2 separate regions of the Homo sapiens genome follow, and region 1 is linked to region 2. The links are contacts of gene promoters, found by promoter capture Hi-C in human tissues and cell types (Jung and others, 2019). All regions are on one chromosome and are shown on one strand. The core of a region is centred on a gene start or on the middle of the fragment in contact, and the rest is flanking DNA. Distances in the headings are between cores, read along the strand shown.

What was found. Contacts are between HindIII fragments. The study calls those that stand out against the background at their distance.
Region 1: a contact is called between a fragment that was not itself captured here and the fragment with the promoter of PEX5L in region 2, in 1 of the 25 tissues and cell types used here (thymus).

The regions. Positions count from the first base shown.
Region 1 is chr3:180,322,998-180,326,135 of GRCh38, forward strand. It overlaps the pseudogene RALBP1P1. Among named protein-coding and RNA genes, the nearest start is that of LINC02053, 90 kb to the right of the region's middle. The HindIII fragment of the contact is 6,414 bases long and covers 1-3,138 here.
Region 2 is chr3:180,035,585-180,038,469 of GRCh38, forward strand. It overlaps PEX5L (peroxisomal biogenesis factor 5 like), which reads right to left and starts at 1,353. Exons shown (of 15, transcript NM_016559.3): 1 at 995-1,353. The coding sequence starts at 1,015. RefSeq lists a silencer at 1,419-1,468. The HindIII fragment of the contact is 6,291 bases long and covers 1-2,885 here.

The DNA of each region.
Region 1 (3,138 bases), core at 294-2,793, 290 kb after region 2:
CAGGAGGCGGCAGCCGTGGCAGCGGGGCAGTCGGTTGCATGGTGGCAGGCACAGGTGTAATGGAGAGGTAACAGAGAAGACCTCCTCCCTTCCTAGTCAGGGCATTAGCAAGACTGAATGCTTCCTGCCCCCACCAGCAGCGCCAGTGAACACCGCAGGATGGAGCATGGCAGCGGGCTTACCCAGACCCCCAGCTCTGAAGAGATCAGTCCTACTAAGTTTCCTGGACTGTACCGCACTGGCCAGCCCTCACGTCCCCATGGCATCCTCCATAAGCCTCCTGATATAGTGCCTGATGATGAGAAAGACCATGGGAAGAAAAAAGGAAAATTTAAGAAAAAGGAAAAGAGGACTGACGGCTATGCAGCCTTTCAGGAATATAGCTCTGGAGATGAGGCAGAAAGTCCTTCCAAAATGAAGAGGCTCAAGGGAATCCATGTTTTCAAGAAGCCCAGCTTTTCTAAAAAGAAAGAGAAGGATTTTAAAATAAAACAGAAACCCAAAGAAGAAAAGCATAAAGAAGAAAAGCACAAAGAAGAAAAACATAAAGAGAAGAAGTCAAAAGACCTGACAGAAGCTGATGTTGTTAAACAGTGGAAGGAAAAGAAGAAAAAGAAAAACCAATTCAGGAGCCAGAGGTGCCTCAGATTGATGTTCCAAATCTCAAACCCATTTTTGGAATTCCTTTGGCTGATGCAGTAGAGAGGACCATGATGTATGATGGCATTCGGCTGCCGGCCATTTTCTGTGAATGTATAGATCACTTAGAGAAGTATGGCATGATGCGAAGGCATCTACAGAGTATCAGGAATTGAATCAAAGGTGGATGAGCTAAAAGCAGCCTATGACCGGAAGGAGTCTACCAACTTGGAAGAATATGAGCTTAACACTGTAGCCAGTTTGCTGAAGCAGTATTTGTGAGACCTTCCAGAGAATTTGGTTACCAAAGAGCTTATGCCGAGATTTGAAGAAGCTTGTGGGAGGACCACGGAGACTGAGAAAGTGCAGGAATTCCAGCGTTTACTCAAAGAACTGCCAGAATGTAACTATCTTCTGATTTCTTGGCTCATTGTGCACATGGACCATGTCATTGCAAATGAACTGGAAACAAAAATGAATAAACAGAACATTTCTATAGTGCTCAACCCAACTGTGCAGATCAGCAATTGAGTCCTGTATGTGTTTTTCACACATGCGCAAGAACTCTTTGGAAATGTTGTACTAAAGCAAGCGACGAAACCTCTGCGATGGTCTAACATGGCCACGATGCCCACGCTGCCAGAGACCCAGGCAGGTATCAAGGAGGAGATCAGGAGACAGGGTTTTCTTTTGAATTGTTTACATCGATATCTGCAGTGTGGGATAAAGGATTTATCTAAAGAAGAAAGATTATGGAAAGTCCAAAGAATTTTGACAGCCCTCAAAAGAAAACTGAGAGACGCTTAAAGACAGGAGTGTGAAACCAAGATTACACAAAAGATAGCCAGTCTTTTAAAAGAGGATGTTTCCAAAGAAGAGATGAATGAAAATGAAGAAGTTATAAATATTCTCCTTGCTTGGGAGAATGAGATCCTGACTGAATAGGAGGAGCTCCTGACCATGGAGCAGTTTCTATGCCGGCAGACTTCCTCAGAAAAAGAAGAGATGGGATGCCTCAGAGCCGAGATTGCTGAAATTCAGAGTCACCAGCAGCACGGCCGAAGTGAGACTGAGGAGTACTCCTCCGAGAGCGAGAGTGAGGATGAGGAGGAGCTGCAGATTATTCTGGAATATTTACAGAGACAGAACGAAGAGCTGGAAATAAAGAGCAATCATTTGAATCAAGCAGTTCAAGAGGAGCGCGAGGTCATCATCGAGCTGCGCGTACAGTTCCGGCTGCTCCAGATGGAGGGAACCAAGGCTGAGCAGCAGGTGCAGGAGGACCAGGAGCCTGAGTGGCGCGGTGGTGCCGTCCAGTCGCCCAGAGACTGTGTCCTCAGGCCAAAAGAAGCTAAAGAGCAGCCAAAGGCAGGCAAAGAGCCGGTGAAGCCATCACCCAGCAGGGACAGGAAGGAGACGTCCATCTGAGCAGCCCGCGCGGCCGTCTGGAGTCCGCGAGACTGAAAGGACCTGTGCATCTTACTGTAACCAGGGGGCCAGGCCGGCTTTCTTGCTGTACATTCTGTAAAGGTGTCTTCTCTTCTCAGACTCTTCCTCTGTCACCCGTCTGACTCCTTTGCGTCAGGCTCAGGTTCCATTAAGAGAACGAAGCAGTGGATGCATTGTGGGCTTTAGGGACAGATGAGTTTTCCAGATAGTGTCACCTTATTTAAAGATTAATTTTCTTTGTTAACTTAAAATAACTATTTTAACCCTCGAGTGGCTTCTTTTTAAACCATAAATCGTCTTGCTTTGCTTTTTTATCACAGCAGAATCAGGATCTCTTTCTCATTCAAGGGGGGAACCACACCAGGTCAGCGCTGCACCTGCTGTGGCCGCTGTGAGCTGCACCCTCTGGGATCTCTGGTACCTTCACACTTGCTTGTGCCTTCCACACCTTCTTGGTGCAGATCCCTGTGGGGGAGCTGCCTCATGTTCTCTGGCCAGAGTGGCGCCTGGTGTGTGTTCCCTGGCCCACCCTCCTAACTCTCTCCTTCTGCAGTTCTAAACCACAGTTGATAAGCCCTAGTCACCAGGATGGCCTAGTCTGGCCACAGACAGAGGCTGCCTGTGGAGCCTGTCCACCCACCCCGGGCAGTGCAGGCCGGCAGGGAGGAGGCCGCCTCTTCCCACCAGTTCCTCACCGCGGGGACCAGCAAAGGCCTTCTCACTGGGTTGGCAGAGGTAGTCACCTTGGCCTGGTGCATCCACAGAGGATGTTGCTCAAACTAGAAATCTTTTAAACAACTGGCCTTCCTTAAAAACAGAATGACTCCGATTGCTTGCTTGGGCTAGAATGTACACGTGTCCTTGCCTGAATAAGCCATATATATGCTTTTAAACAAAAGTATGAAATTACCCATATTGTCTCAGTGAATCTGCTGGTGGACTCCCAATTGACAAGACTGAGCAATAAAAAAAATTTTCTTTCGTTTGAGTGATAGCTGTGACTCACCCCACCCCACTTTCTTGTTTCTGGTCCATCTGATGAGATGGATG
Region 2 (2,885 bases), core at 103-2,602:
TACTAAGTCATAAATATAACAACATATTTATCTATTTCCAATTGCTCTAAAAGACACAGAAGCAAAATCCTCAGTATTCATAAATGTTATACACCAGGATAAAGGCATCACACATAATGATTGTATTTGACCATCTTTGGAATGGAAAGGAAGCCCAAACATCAAACCTGATGACTAAACCATTTAGGTGCGATAAAGAGTCCAGTTCATACTTTAGAAAGCTGAGTTAGTATTTTATTTTTCTCCCAAAGCATATATCTGCCTTTATAAGAACCAACCAACCGTATGAATGAGAACTGGAGTCAAGGTTAAAGTAATCTTGCCCAAGAGAGTAGAGTGTGTTTGCATCGGAAAGAAGCAGCGGCTCAGCTCAGATGAATATTAATAACAACCGGAGGCAGCACCTCCCCTGAAAAACATTAGAGCTCCTTGGACATGTGTTTGAAATTCATCCTCCCAAGTCATCCTGTGACTATTGGAGTAGATGGCAATGTCCCATAATGTGAAGGGGGAAAATACACTATAAATCGTTTTTTAAATATAACACTTTAAAAAATGAAACGAAAGTGACAGAGTGTTCTAAGTCAAGCAACCTTTTCAGATGGTAAAGGAAAAGCTTTGTCTTTCCTATTATTGTTTGCCCTTCAGTTGACATACATGCTGAGATGCATCAATAGGATTACAACGGAAACACGGTCATCTCTAGGGTTTCCTCTGTTTCGATTCCTTGATCCTGTTTAAAGAAACAGGCTCAGGGAATGCACAGAAAACAAACTTCCCCAATCGAAGTTCTGAGGTCTTCCCTCCCCTTCTCCCACCTTCGGAAACCGGTCTAGTTTTCCCGGCAGCACCGGACAGAAATGTCACGGTCATGTTGCATCACTTCACTTGTTGAGCTGTGCGAAGGCAGCACTTGACCACAGAAACTTGGTGAACCGCCTTGCTCTTAAATTAGCCCCCAAGAATTCTCTCCAGCCCTATAGAAATGTCTTACCTGCATGTGTCCCTGGTACATTCTGCTTCGGTTTCTTCAGGGCTCCCTGAGGCCACCGGATGCTTTTCCCCCGTGCTTACTTGCCCACCAAAAGAGGGGAAAAGGTGGGTGCACAGCGGGTTCTCAGAGGGTGCTCCTGAGCCCCCTGGAGCTCCGGGTACTCGGCCGGCCGGCGGCCACTCGGCAGCGCTGCGGGCTGCCGGGAACTGTTCTCCGCTCGGGGTGCTGAAAGCGGACGCGGGAGAGCGCGCAGAGAAGGCGAGGAGCCGGGTCGGCCAGGCTCTCCTGCAGGCGCGGGTCCTGCTCGCGGGGCGTCTCTAGAACTCACTCCTTCTTCGCCGAACTCTTTCTCGCTTCCTGCCAGGTTGCCTCATGTCTCTCTCTCTCTGAGCTGCGAACCCCCTCCTCCCAGCCCTGACGTGAGCGCCTACACCAGCCGCCGCCGCAGCTGCCGAGCGGGGCGCGCGCCGTTCTCCCAGCCGCGTGCCTGCCGAGAGGCCGCGGGACCGGGCACGCGCGCGCGTTCCCAGGGGCCTGGGAGCGGCCCGAGGGCGGCCCCGGGCGGTGCGCGCTCCCCGAGCGCGTCCTCGGGGCTGCGCGCGCGCGGCGGCAAGGCGAGGTGCCGGCAGGCGGTGGTCGCGCTGGTGTACAACGCCCGCAGCAGCGCGGCGTTCAGGTGCGGCGTCGGCGGGCAGGGCGATTCTAGCGGAGAGGATGGCCGGCCGGAAGAAAGGCGGGAAGACATGCATCGTCTCTCCGGGGGCCATCCACCGCGGCTGAGCCTGTTATCCTACAGACATTATAGGCTGAGTGCAGGGGTTGCCGAAGAGTTTACTTCGGTTCTGATTCAGCTCTCGAAAGTTACGTCCGTATCACCCGTTAAATAAAGACTCCCCGCTCCCCTCATCCCCAGTTCATCGCCGAGCATTCTATTTAAAACGGCAAACCCTAGTCCCTGAGGATCTGGCATGTTTTATTTTTTTCCCTAGCACGTAACATCACCTAACATCCTTTATATTTTCCATATTTATTTTATGTACTGTCTGTCTCTCCCTCTGTACAATGTTATTTCCATGAGATCAGGGACTTTTTTTTAGGGGGGTGGAGTGTTGCACTTGGTTTTGCACGTGTGTGCACAGTAAGGTATTTAGTACTTCCTGACACATGGCAGGCACACAATAAATATTTGCTGAATGAATAGACCTTTACTACTATACACTTACACACACATACACACATATATGAAGAGTGCATTTAAATATGTCTCAAGTTGAGACTGGGTAGTTTGATGTGTCTACACAATAAATGTTCATATATACACACACACCACGGGGTGGTGTATACTGTGATTACCTAATTTTGTTGGTAAAAACATCTCCAATTCTACAGGCCCCTCATATTATGTACAGCATGATATCCCCAAAATATTGCATATAGCATAATATGCTTTTTATAAAGTTTAAAAAATCCCTAGAAATGTCAATGTGTATTCATATATTCATATACAACAATATAAAAAGGAAAGCAGTGGAACAATGAATATAGTGTTCAGAGTGTTGGTGACCCTGGGTGAAGGGAGGCAGGGAAATAGATGGGGAAGCATTTCACTTGAAGTTTAGATGTTAATGTCTTATCTTCTATGCCGGGTAGTGATTCATAGGACACCTAATATCCTATTAAAAATTACTGTGTAACTAAATAAAATAGAACCATGTATGGACTAATGAGGAGAATGTGAAATGAACAAAAGGATGTGAAATGAACCAATTCAATGCATCTGAGGTCCTAAAACAACCAACCAAACAAACACAAAAGGACTAAGACCTGTAAGCAGGAGACATGGATTCCTATTAGATTCCACTAGTAGTTACCCTTGGACAATTTCCTTTTA